Linked DNA regions of Homo sapiens: regions 1, 3 and 4 are each linked to region 2. Evidence: promoter capture Hi-C in human tissues and cell types (Jung and others, 2019). All regions are on one chromosome and are shown on one strand. Each heading gives the region's core, a stretch centred on a gene start or on the middle of the fragment in contact. The rest is flanking DNA. Distances are from core to core; before and after follow the strand shown.

Region 1 (2,700 bases), core at 50-2,549, 190 kb after region 2:
TGGTTGGAGTTAAAATCTTCCAGGAAGTCTCCCAAACAATACTGTGTCCTTGAATGCTAATATCTATACTATTAATTTCTCATTGAGAATGGAGTTTCATAATCCAGTGATGCTTTTTGATATTATATTACCACTATTTATTTTTTAAAATTCTATTGCATCTACCATGTGTACTTTTTATCTTAATAGAATGAGTGAAACCTTGAGAGCAAAGCACAACCTTTTATTTGTATAAAATTATTTTAATTTATTCCAAGCATTTATTTTTGCATTTTTTTCAAGTGATTTTTCTTTTGATAGGCTATGCTCCATGAAGTGCTTTACAGTTGAACATTGCATTCAAAATTTACATTCTATTCAATAATTATTCTATTGTTATGAATTCATTATTTTTCTTAAATTTATATGAGACTTAGACTAGATTTGAAAATCTTTATACCTAATAGATTATCAGGTCACTAAATTGGAGACTATATCCATGTAATACACTCACAAGTACTTGAAAAGTTGGTATTTTCTCTTTCCCTCAACTTCTAAGCTTTAATAGTCCTATTAAACTTTTTTAAAATTGTATGAAAGACAAGTCTTATAAAATTGCTTCAAAAAAGAGATGTCTACAGTCAGATATTTTAAGAAGTACTACATAATAGAGTTATCTTTTGGCAACTCAAAGTTTATATTAGCAAGGACTGTGAAAATTCCTGGAATAAAAATTTTGAGTTAATGTTGTTTCACCTAGTATTTCCAGATATATTTAATGATGGGAAGCCCCATGCCCTATGCACATTTAATTGCACTGATATTTCCTTTCAAACACTGATCTAAGGTGGAGAGATGTAAAATGGATCTTGTACTAAGAAAGAAGAGGAGAGAGACAATGTGCAGTCCCCCGATCCTGGAAGTTAGTAAAATACTATCTGATGATTTGCTTTGGTTTTATGCTTTAGGTTGCTGGGGAAGAAATAAATGAAATATCGTACCCCAAAGGAAAATGTTCTACTTATCAGATAAAGGGATCACCAAACTTGACTCTGCCCAAAGGTAGTTTTCCAAATCAGTCATCTAATTACTCTAAATGCCCTAATAATTCAGGTAATTAAAAAAAAATAGGTATCCTCTTTTCTTTGCTTTATATGTTACTGTAGCTTTAAAGGGAAAGATTATTGGTCAAATAAACAAAAGAACAATATATAAATGTCCCAGTATTCATTCTCGTCTCTGAGACTAATTTTTTTTAAATGATTGAAAAGATAGCTGCTGTGTTTTACAGTGTTTCTTGTATTTTGTGAAGTAGCAATTCACAGGCTACCTAATAGTTTAGAAAAAGTATCTTGAGGATGTTTTGTCTGATCTATTATATCCTTAATCATTGTAACATAACTTTGTTTCTTTCATAAATTAATACATTGAGAGTCATTTAAGAAAATAAACATTAAATTATTAATGCCTTGTGAAAAGCCGTATCACCAACATTGATTTTAGTTTATTCTTTGTAATTTGCATTTGTGTGGTCTTCCATCATAGCAGCCAGGGTAGTTTTAGAACTAAAAATGACTGGATCACATTAGTGTAAACTACTTTTCCAGTCATTGCTACTTTTAAAATTGGTTGCTTAAAATTTGAAAGCACCTAGCAAATTCTGTTTAACACCTTGTCCCTTTCTCGTGTCAATATTTTTAAAGTAAAACCCCATGTAAATTATTATTTTTCAAGAATCTTATATACAAGAAGATGACATTTATGATGATTCCCAAGAAGCTGAAGTTATCCAGTCTCTGCTGGATGTTGTGGATGAGGAAGCCCAGAATCTTTTAAACGAAAATAATGCAGCAGGATACTCCTGTGGTCCAGGTACGTGAACCAGATGAATAAATTGGTATACTATGGAGTACAAAAACGTCTCTAGGGAGCATTTTTTGAGTAAATATGTAATGCATTAGTTCTTCTTCTGTTCCTCATTCATGTGTAATATTTCAGAAACAAAACAGAATTTGTTATCTCCTATTTTTTTTATTTTCCATATTTGTAAGTGGGTTACCTTATTAGTGAGATCTCCAAATGTATCATTTATATCATGGCTTTTACTTCTAGTAGGGTTAGTCCAAACATTTTCCCCCAGCCATTCTCATTTTAATTTTAGTAGATAATTTTAACCAGAAATTTTATACCAAAATGTACTTGATCATTTCTTCCTAACTTTTCTAGTTAAAACATTGAAACTATTTATGGATATTGGTTTATACACTGCCTTCTTTTGCAGGCAAATGAAAACTTTTCTACTTCCTCAATAGTTTTATAAATTCCTCTTGGCCTATATATTCCTCTCTCAGGTACATTAAAGATGAATGGGAAGTTATCAGAAGAGAGAACAGAAGATACAGACTGCGATGGTTCACCTTTACCTGAGTATTTTACTGAGGTAACAATAATACCTAAACAACCTAGGATATGACAGCTTGTTACAATTATGGGTTTAACCCAGAAGGTGAAATAATCAGAGATTCTTTCCTGTTTTACTCAAAAATTAAATTTAGGAGGAAAACGGAGATTAATTTCATGTGTTACATTAAAGTGTCATCCTATCCTAGTGAAAGAATCATTACACAAATTTTCTCAAATTAAAAAAAATAGAAAAAAAAACAATTAGTTTTCAAAAATGTAATGCTAAACTTTATAAATTATTCTTTAAAACCTTAAAAC
Region 2 (2,700 bases), core at 174-2,673:
ACATTTTAGCTATAATTGTTCTCAAATTGTTTCAAGAGTGCTAGTTTTCTTTCTTAGGCTCCAGGTTAGCTCCTTGGGAGCGGGGACTTAGCTTAAAATCCTGCTGTGTATTTTCCGTTGTGTTTAGCCCTATGAGTAATCACATTCAATGCATACTTGTAAGGCATATTTGACTGAAGATATCTATCATAGTTATTCATTTAGTAAATGATATAATGAAAACTCAAGTGCTCGCCAAAGATAAATCATTACTATTAATTCCCTCATTCATCATACATGTATGGCAGCCTCAGGGGCTAGGGAACCTAGGATTGCTGCTTTGACTTTTTTTGGGGAAGCCAAATAAGCCTCAGATCTCTCCACTTTGGAGCCAGCCATGAAATTCAGATTTACCTAGGGCTCAACATTAAGGGTCTCAGACTAAATTTATCTTCAGGTACCCTTTCCAGAGTGGACCAGTTTACCTTATACCTCTGAGAATAACCCAAAACTTTCAAAACTCAAATCACAGGATATTATTTGTTCATGAATTCAGCAAGACTCTCTTGTTTAACTATTGAAACTCAAATATTTCGGCTTGCAGCAAGGAGGGGTACAGCTGTCTGGATATACCTTGGCCAAATTTCAGTGTATATAGAAAAGTGGGAGGTTATCGACTATGTTAAACCTTTTCCTTAAATTTTCAAACTTCGGGATTATTTTAGTCTCATAGATAAAATAACAAGGCAAGTATTTACAAACTTTTTTCAAAAATATGAGAATTTCAGTTTTCCCTAGGGCATTTGGCGTTGTGCTGTCACCACACTTTTGAAGATAGCTTTACAACCGTGGGAAAACTCACCGGGCTTTTTTCGTTGACCCCGCCATTTCTAAGTTGCTATATTGCTGCAAGGAGCTGGCAAAGCCATGCTCTTCCTCTCCCCCATTCTCCTCTTCCTTTCAAAGACCAAAGCGCCCCGTGAGAATATAGAAACAAGGCTGAGAGGCAGCGAAGAGTAAGGGAGGAGCCAGCACTTACGCATTTTTCACTCTCCTCCTCACTCCCTAGGGTCATAGTTTTGATTCTGAAGTTAGAAGTGTGGGGGTCGTCGGCTGCATTTTCAACTTGGCCTAAAAGTTGGAGTTCACCACACTGCAGGCGCTAGGAACTCTGCCGCTCGGTCACCAACCTGAGCCTCTGGCTAGTCCGAAGAACGCGAAAAGCCAGGCCCAAGGCACTGGTTGTCATGGCAACCGGGGCGCTGGTCTCCCTGGCGACCTCGTCCCTAGGGAGGAGGTGGAGCTGGATGCCAGGCGGGCCAATGAGGTCGAGGGGAGCTCGGGGTGGGAGATCTGCGGTCCTCCCAGTGCCGGGGAATGGTTGAGTGACAGGACCGGGGGGGCGGAGCCGGCGCGGCTGCCCGAGGTGGAGCCCCAGTGGTGCGAGTAGCTCCAGCGGCCACGCTGAGGCGAGGGTGACACACCATGCTCACGGCCCCTGGAGACCGTCGTGCTGGCGAGCCGTGCTCCGTAGCTCCCCGGTCCGCCTCGGCAGCGGTCAGAGTCGCCTACAGGAGTTGAGCCGCCCGCGCCAGAAGGTTTTGGCGAAGCTCTTGGAGAGGCGTCGAGCACAGTAGGGCGGCGGGGGTGCGTTGAGCGCTCGGGGGTCAGGCAGTCGGCCGGGATCGCCGCTGGGGAGCGTTTCCGAGGCGAGGAGGAGGAGGAGGAGATGCTGCTCCTCTTCTCCCCCTCCCCAGGCTCCTTCTACAGCTCCTTCAGCCCACGCCCGCAGCCGCTTGTGGGAGAAGTGGTGGTGGCTCTCGGCGCCCGCGGCGGCTGCCGGCGGCCCGCCCCGACGCCGCGTCCCTGCAGCCCTCGCCCGGCGCTCCAGTAGCAGGACCCGGTCTCGGGACCAGCCGGTAAGGACGAGAGCCGCCCTGGGCTCTGCGCTGCATGTGCAGAAGTGCAAAACAAAGTACATTGCGCTCGTTCTCTTCCTCCTCTCTCTGCTTTCGCTCCAGTCCCTAAACCCAACTCCTCGGTTGCCCTGGTAGAAGGAACTTTTCTTTGGTTTTGGTGGTGGGTGTTTTTGTACGTTAGAGTGGGGGTGGGGTGACTGGAGTGGGGAAGAATGAGATGAAACTCCATTGCTAATTAGGTAGATCCATCTCCTCTGCGGAAGAAAGCCGGATTCTCGGGAATGAAACCCACAGGGGGAGTAAGAGATTGTGGGGTAATAGGGAGTGACATTGCCCCGTCGTGCTTGCACAGCTCCGCTCTGTGCGTGCTTAAGGGAAGGGCTCCCGGAGTCTGTTTCTAATTTCTGCAAATGATTGTGGAGATGGTGTGGTTAGAGGCCGCCCAGAAGAATGTGTGTGTAAGGGCTCGAGAAGGGGGTGGGATGGCGGGGAAGCAGAGGAAGAGGGGGCAGAGGGAGAGACACTGTCTGATGCAAGGTCTTTTATTGCTTTTCTTCTGCTTGCTAAAGTTAACACTCTACCCTCCGGCCCCCTAGCCCCACCGCTTTGCTCATTACGTGATACTGTAAGAGCAGACAGCTGGGAAGCTAAAGTTAAACCAAAGTCAAGAAAATTCTTACAAAGTTTAATTTCCTTCTGTTGTGAATATAATGGAGAGAGGAGGATGGGGAGAAATATCACTAAGAGATTTACAGCAATACAGTTTTCATTGGCCATACACGTATATGATCGACACCACCGC
Region 3 (2,700 bases), core at 61-2,560, 160 kb after region 2:
CCTGAATAGCTGTGACTACAGGAACGCAGTACCACATCTGGCTTTTTATATTTTTTTGTAGAGACAGGGTTTCACTATGTTGCCCAGGTTGGTCTTGAACTCCTGGACTCAAGGGGTCTGCCCACCTTGGCCTCCCAAAGTGCTGAGATTACAGGCTTGAGCCATCACGCCCAGTCTGTTAGCTTCTCTTGGTCACAGTTGCCATGACAGTCTTACTAAGACTGTCATGTGCCATTACTTTGGATTACCTTTTTTGGCTTTTCCTTTCAAGCCGATGTGAATGAACTCTGGTAATGCTATAGTTTTGGAGAAGCATTTACTTAGAATGCTTTCAGCTTAGCAGGAACAAAATTGTCTCTAAAACCTTAGATAATTTTATGAAATGTGCTATGGTTGATAGGTAGAAGTTTTTAAGTTGATTTCAGTTTCTTCAAATTCTCCCAGATAGCAGGGCATATTATTTAAGTGAAATTGTATGTATGTGTGTGTGTGTGTGTGTGTGCATGCACATGTGCATATATATCTATATATATGCACCTTTTAAGATGCTTACCTTTTATACATGCTACCTTTTAAGATAAATAGTTCAGGTTTCCTGTTGCCTTGTGCAACTTAAAAGGGAAACGCACTGGAGTCGATCTTTGAAAAGAATGGATGTTTAAGCACAGAGATCTGAACTACTACTCAAAATATGAAACAGCGTGGGAAACAAAAGGGAAATGAGGACTGTTTCCCTTCTGTTGTCTTACGAAATACTACTAAACTCTCTTCTTAGGCTCAAGGTTTGTTAATTTATCTCTAATTACCCAAAGTTTAAAAGCTTTTTTTATTCTATAATTGGATTCAGGGTATGTCGAGTAAATGAAGACAAAAGACAATTCTGCATTATAATACATAAATATTTATGGAAGCAACATTACTTTATTAATGTAGGCTTTCGCAACTTTCAGAGACTATACTATCAATTTAATTTCAGTCAGTTAAAAAAACTTAGATAAAAGGCAAGATTTCATTCTATAGGTAACTCTGTGTTGAAAATAGGCTAAGAGATTGATTTGATCTTTTAGGAAATACTTTTCAAAGTGTTCACATATAACGGGGCCTCATACATTCTAAACTATTTTCATTAAGAAGGCTTTGGTCTACATGAAAATTCATTACATATCCGAAGGAAAATAGTAAATACTCTATAGAAAACATAAAACACTCTTAAAGGAAATTTTTCTGCATTTTGTATTTATTCATTCTTACTGAATAATGAATATTCTTTTAACACTTGAACAAATGAAAAACTCATTCCAGTTTCATCATTTCATATTTGATATATCAAAGTATTGTCAGAAACAATATATTTGTGTTTAAATTTATGCTGCAAAATAAGTTATTATGCTTAGCTACTATTTAAAATAGTGAAAATGCCCATTGGAGGATGTTTTCTCAGTGTAAATACAAAATGTTGCTGCCTTATTGTTCTATTGATTTTTATGAGCTTATCAGAAGAAATCACTTCGATATCTAGCATCTGACCATCTTATGAAATGTCTAATATTTAATTTATGCCACAGGAATGACTATGCATAGTTCTGGAAACTCTTCATCCCAAGTACCCTTAAAAGAAAATGGTAGGTTTACAAAATGTTTTTCCCCTCATTTCCATCATTTCTTGTACCTTACTGAGATAGTCTTGGACCTAACAATGAAGAGTCTTGAGTTCCATGCCTAGGATTTGATCTTACATTGAAGTTAAAGGAGAGTTGTATTTTTCAGCATCATAATGATGTAATGGGACCTCTGATTTAGGCTAATGTTGATGAAATGACAAATTAGAGATAAGGACACTAATTGGGAAGCTAAGATAATAGTTCAGGTGGGAGATAATTTCTATTAAAAAGAGTTTTAACTGAGGCAGTTATTTTAAAGGGATGCTGGAGCTGAATTTTAGAGGGAAAGGAGGATTCATTCAGACGGAACAATAAAGATAAGCATTCCAGATCAAGGGCATAGCATGGTCAGAGACATGGAATCATGAGAAAAGAAATTTAGGGAACTGCAGGAGTCTCAGTATGGTGGCATGTGGGGGCCAGGGTAAAGTTTGAGAACTAAGTAGGGACCAGTTTTTAATCTTATGCTAAATATTATGAGGATATTTTGAAGACTTTAAATGCTGAGATTATAGTTTAGAAGGAATCTAAGAAACAAAATCGTAGGCAGAAGACCAGAAATGTCCAGTGACTTGAACATCACTGGCTTTAAAATTTTTAGAATTTAGATTGCAAAGTATTTTCATATACATTATCTTATTTGATCTTTCTAACAACTTTCATGAGTAGAAAATAATGTTTTATTACTATCCATACACTACTTTCCTCCAAAAATGTTTCAGTCTTGGACTCTTAAAGTTGAAATAATTAAAAGCCTGATGAGAAAGAAGCCATTATGTTAATTAAAATTATTAATACAGCTAAACTTGATGAAGTTGTAAATTTAGTTTCAATATTCCTGTAGCCAGGGTAAAACAGAAGGCATAAGACTGAACTATATAGAATTGCTGGGTATTTTTAGGTCAAAACTGTCAAACACCAGAGTGCTATTTTGTATGATTCTCATTCTCTAATAAAAATACACATACTAATTCTTTAAGACAGAAAAAATTTTCTTGGAATTAAAATTGCTTTTAAAAGTAAAACTACACACAATGTC
Region 4 (2,700 bases), core at 162-2,661, 210 kb after region 2:
AAACCTATCATTAAAAGGTTTTAGTTTGGTAATCACAGTAATTACCAGTTAAATTTATAGATATTTGAAATAGAAATAGAAATAACTTCTAAGGTATGTAATACATATAAATTTATTCTCTTAGATAAATCTTAGACAATATAACCTCAGTGAATGATAGCTTGTACATACTTTTCACTGGAGCAGCCTGGTTTAAAAAATTACATTTTGACTATATGAAATTATAATAAAACAAAGATAAGGGCCTTTATGCCTGGATAATAAAATGAGCTGTTATTTTCTTTATTGTGTTAATTTATTGTTTTGGCTGCTTATTAAAAGAATATAATTTTATTAGGTGAGTGAGAGTTAATTATGCCAATAACATTTGCAATATATACTTTAATAGTGTTATTGTAATACTAAATTGTGTTCTATGAAAAATTTTTTGGCATTGCCTTTCAGTGCTATTATTATTATCATCATCATCATTAAAATAATGATGGAGAAGTACCAGTTGTTTTTCTTTGTTTCTCTAGTTACTTATTAGGCAATTCTAAATGCATTTATTAACTTACTAATTTTAATTTCAACTAAATCTATGTAAATAATACCAAATTTCATATGTCAGAAACTCACTAAACTAACAGCTTAGATACTTGTAACATGAGCAAAAAGAATAAACATAAAATAATTTGGCTGTGCTACAATTTGAAAATATACTTCTATTAAAATACGTTGGTGATTTCATCTGTGACTATGAGAATTTCTCATGATCTTTGACTCATGCAATTTGTAAGACTCTTGTTTAAAATGCATGATATGGATGGCTCTGTTTTGTGGTGGAAAATTCACAGATGATGCTACAAGAGTGCCTCTTGGAGATGAAGGTGGCTATATCAATGCCAGCTTCATTAAGATACCAGTTGGGAAAGAAGAGTTCGTTTACATTGCCTGCCAAGGACCACTGCCTACAACTGTTGGAGACTTCTGGCAGATGATTTGGGAGCAAAAATCCACAGTGATAGCCATGATGACTCAAGAAGTAGAAGGAGAAAAAATCAAATGCCAGCGCTATTGGCCCAACATCCTAGGCAAAACAACAATGGTCAGCAACAGACTTCGACTGGCTCTTGTGAGAATGCAGCAGCTGAAGGGCTTTGTGGTGAGGGCAATGACCCTTGAAGATATTCAGGTAAGTGAATGAAATCTTTCCCTGTTGGAAGGTGTATCTCCTAGTTGTAATCCAAGCCTGGACTCTTTCCGTGATTGCACCAATGTTATTTCTAGATAAAAGACAGTGACTTCCTAGTTCCCATGCAATGGAACTAATGCTAGCTATTTTTTCTTTATGTAATATAAGTTTAAATGTGACTGTCTTCATGAATTCTGCCAGTTTCCTCCAGTATGTCCTCTACTAAAATGGAAATGAAAATGCAGGACTTTTAATGTGATTATCATCCTTGGTGATAGCACAAAATGGCTCAGAAGTTGCATGTTGGAAACTTGTGTTTTTATGGTCAGACCTCTAAGTAGACTCATTGAAACTACTTTTAAAATCTTTAAGTAGAAAATATTCCCTCATAAAGGCAACTTAACATATTTAGGAATACATGGATAATTTTAGCATAAACAGTTGTTATTCAGATCATTCATACTGCAGTTACCTAACCACTGGATCAATCTAGCTTGAATTAGATAAGTGGCAATACCTGAAGTAAAGCTGCTACTGTTTCCTCACTCTGTGTTCTCCCTCACCTTACTACACGCCTGTGCACAGTATCCTAGCTAGATGTGAGTAATGTTTCCCATAGAAATTTAGCTATCTTAAGGAAACAGTGATTTTACTTTTATAGAAACAAAGCATATCAATTCAGTTCTATTGGTGTCATGTAAATGTAGCCTGAGAATTTCTCTCATAATTTTTGATTCATGATTTTTTATTGATTTACACTAGCTTACCTATTACTTAGGCTAGCACAGTTGTTCAATATTCTTCCAGTGATTTATCCACTTAATCCACACATTTTTATAGAACTCAACCCCTTTATAGAGATTTGGCAGTCAACAACACAGACAAAAAATATTTCTAACCTCATGGAGCTTACATTCTGAAGAGGAAATACCAGTATTGATAGTGCTGTGGAAAAAAATAGAGAAGGACAATTGGCTGGGGGAGAATGAGAAGTATGTCGTAATTTTCAACAAGGAGTCAGGGAAGGTATGAGAAAATGGCATTTGAGGAAAAATGTGAATGAGTTGAGTGAGCCATGGAGGGAATATCTGAGGAGAAAACCATTCCAGTCAGAAAGAGCCAGTACAAAAGTCCTGAGACCAAACTGTGCACATTGTATTTAAAGCCACAGAGAATCATTTGGCTTGATGAAAGTGGCCATGGGGAAAGAGAGGAGGAGGTGAGGTCTAAGAGGAAACAGGGCCAGATTAGGTAGTGTTGCAGTGACTCTGACTTTTATCTGAGGTGCATTTGGAATGGGGTCACCAGAAAAGGTTGTTATCAAAATGCAATTTGTTTTTAGGGTTTCCAAAAAGTAGTTTTTATCGATATTTAAAATGTGGATCTAGCAACCTTGTTGATAGAGGCCTTCCATGTTTTTCTTAATAGAGCCATTTAGTTTCTTCCACTTTTCCTTTGATCTGATCCTATAGACAAGCCAAAATTTGAAAGCACAATATAATATTAAGAATTAATTGTGGCCGGGC

The links. The method cuts DNA at HindIII sites, captures the fragments that hold promoters and counts their contacts. A contact is called where the count stands out against the background at its distance.
Region 1: a contact is called between a fragment that was not itself captured here and the fragment with the promoter of PTPN13 in region 2, in 1 of the 25 tissues and cell types used here (hippocampus).
Region 3: a fragment that was not itself captured here is called in contact with the fragment with the promoter of PTPN13 in region 2 in 2 of the 25 tissues and cell types used here (dorsolateral prefrontal cortex and hippocampus).
Region 4: a contact is called between a fragment that was not itself captured here and the fragment with the promoter of PTPN13 in region 2, in 3 of the 25 tissues and cell types used here (H1 embryonic stem cells, dorsolateral prefrontal cortex and hippocampus).

The regions. Positions count from the first base shown.
Region 1 is chr4:86,783,518-86,786,217 of GRCh38, forward strand. PTPN13 (protein tyrosine phosphatase non-receptor type 13) reads left to right here. Exons shown (of 48, transcript NM_080683.3): 38 at 948-1,041; 39 at 1,714-1,851; 40 at 2,331-2,419. Among named protein-coding and RNA genes, the nearest start is that of SLC10A6, 65 kb to the right of the region's middle. The HindIII fragment of the contact is 4,039 bases long and covers 1-2,700 here.
Region 2 is chr4:86,592,892-86,595,591 of GRCh38, forward strand. PTPN13 (protein tyrosine phosphatase non-receptor type 13) reads left to right here and starts at 1,424. Exons shown (of 48, transcript NM_080683.3): 1 at 1,424-1,898. It also overlaps a transcript of MAPK10 not described here. RefSeq lists an enhancer at 1,075-1,661. The HindIII fragment of the contact is 10,688 bases long and covers 1-2,700 here.
Region 3 is chr4:86,751,444-86,754,143 of GRCh38, forward strand. It overlaps PTPN13 (protein tyrosine phosphatase non-receptor type 13), which reads left to right. Exons shown (of 48, transcript NM_080683.3): 20 at 1,566-1,622. Among named protein-coding and RNA genes, the nearest start is that of SLC10A6, 97 kb to the right of the region's middle. The HindIII fragment of the contact is 3,681 bases long and covers 1-2,700 here.
Region 4 is chr4:86,806,724-86,809,423 of GRCh38, forward strand. PTPN13 (protein tyrosine phosphatase non-receptor type 13) reads left to right here. Exons shown (of 48, transcript NM_080683.3): 45 at 837-1,174. Among named protein-coding and RNA genes, the nearest start is that of SLC10A6, 41 kb to the right of the region's middle. The HindIII fragment of the contact is 5,393 bases long and covers 1-2,700 here.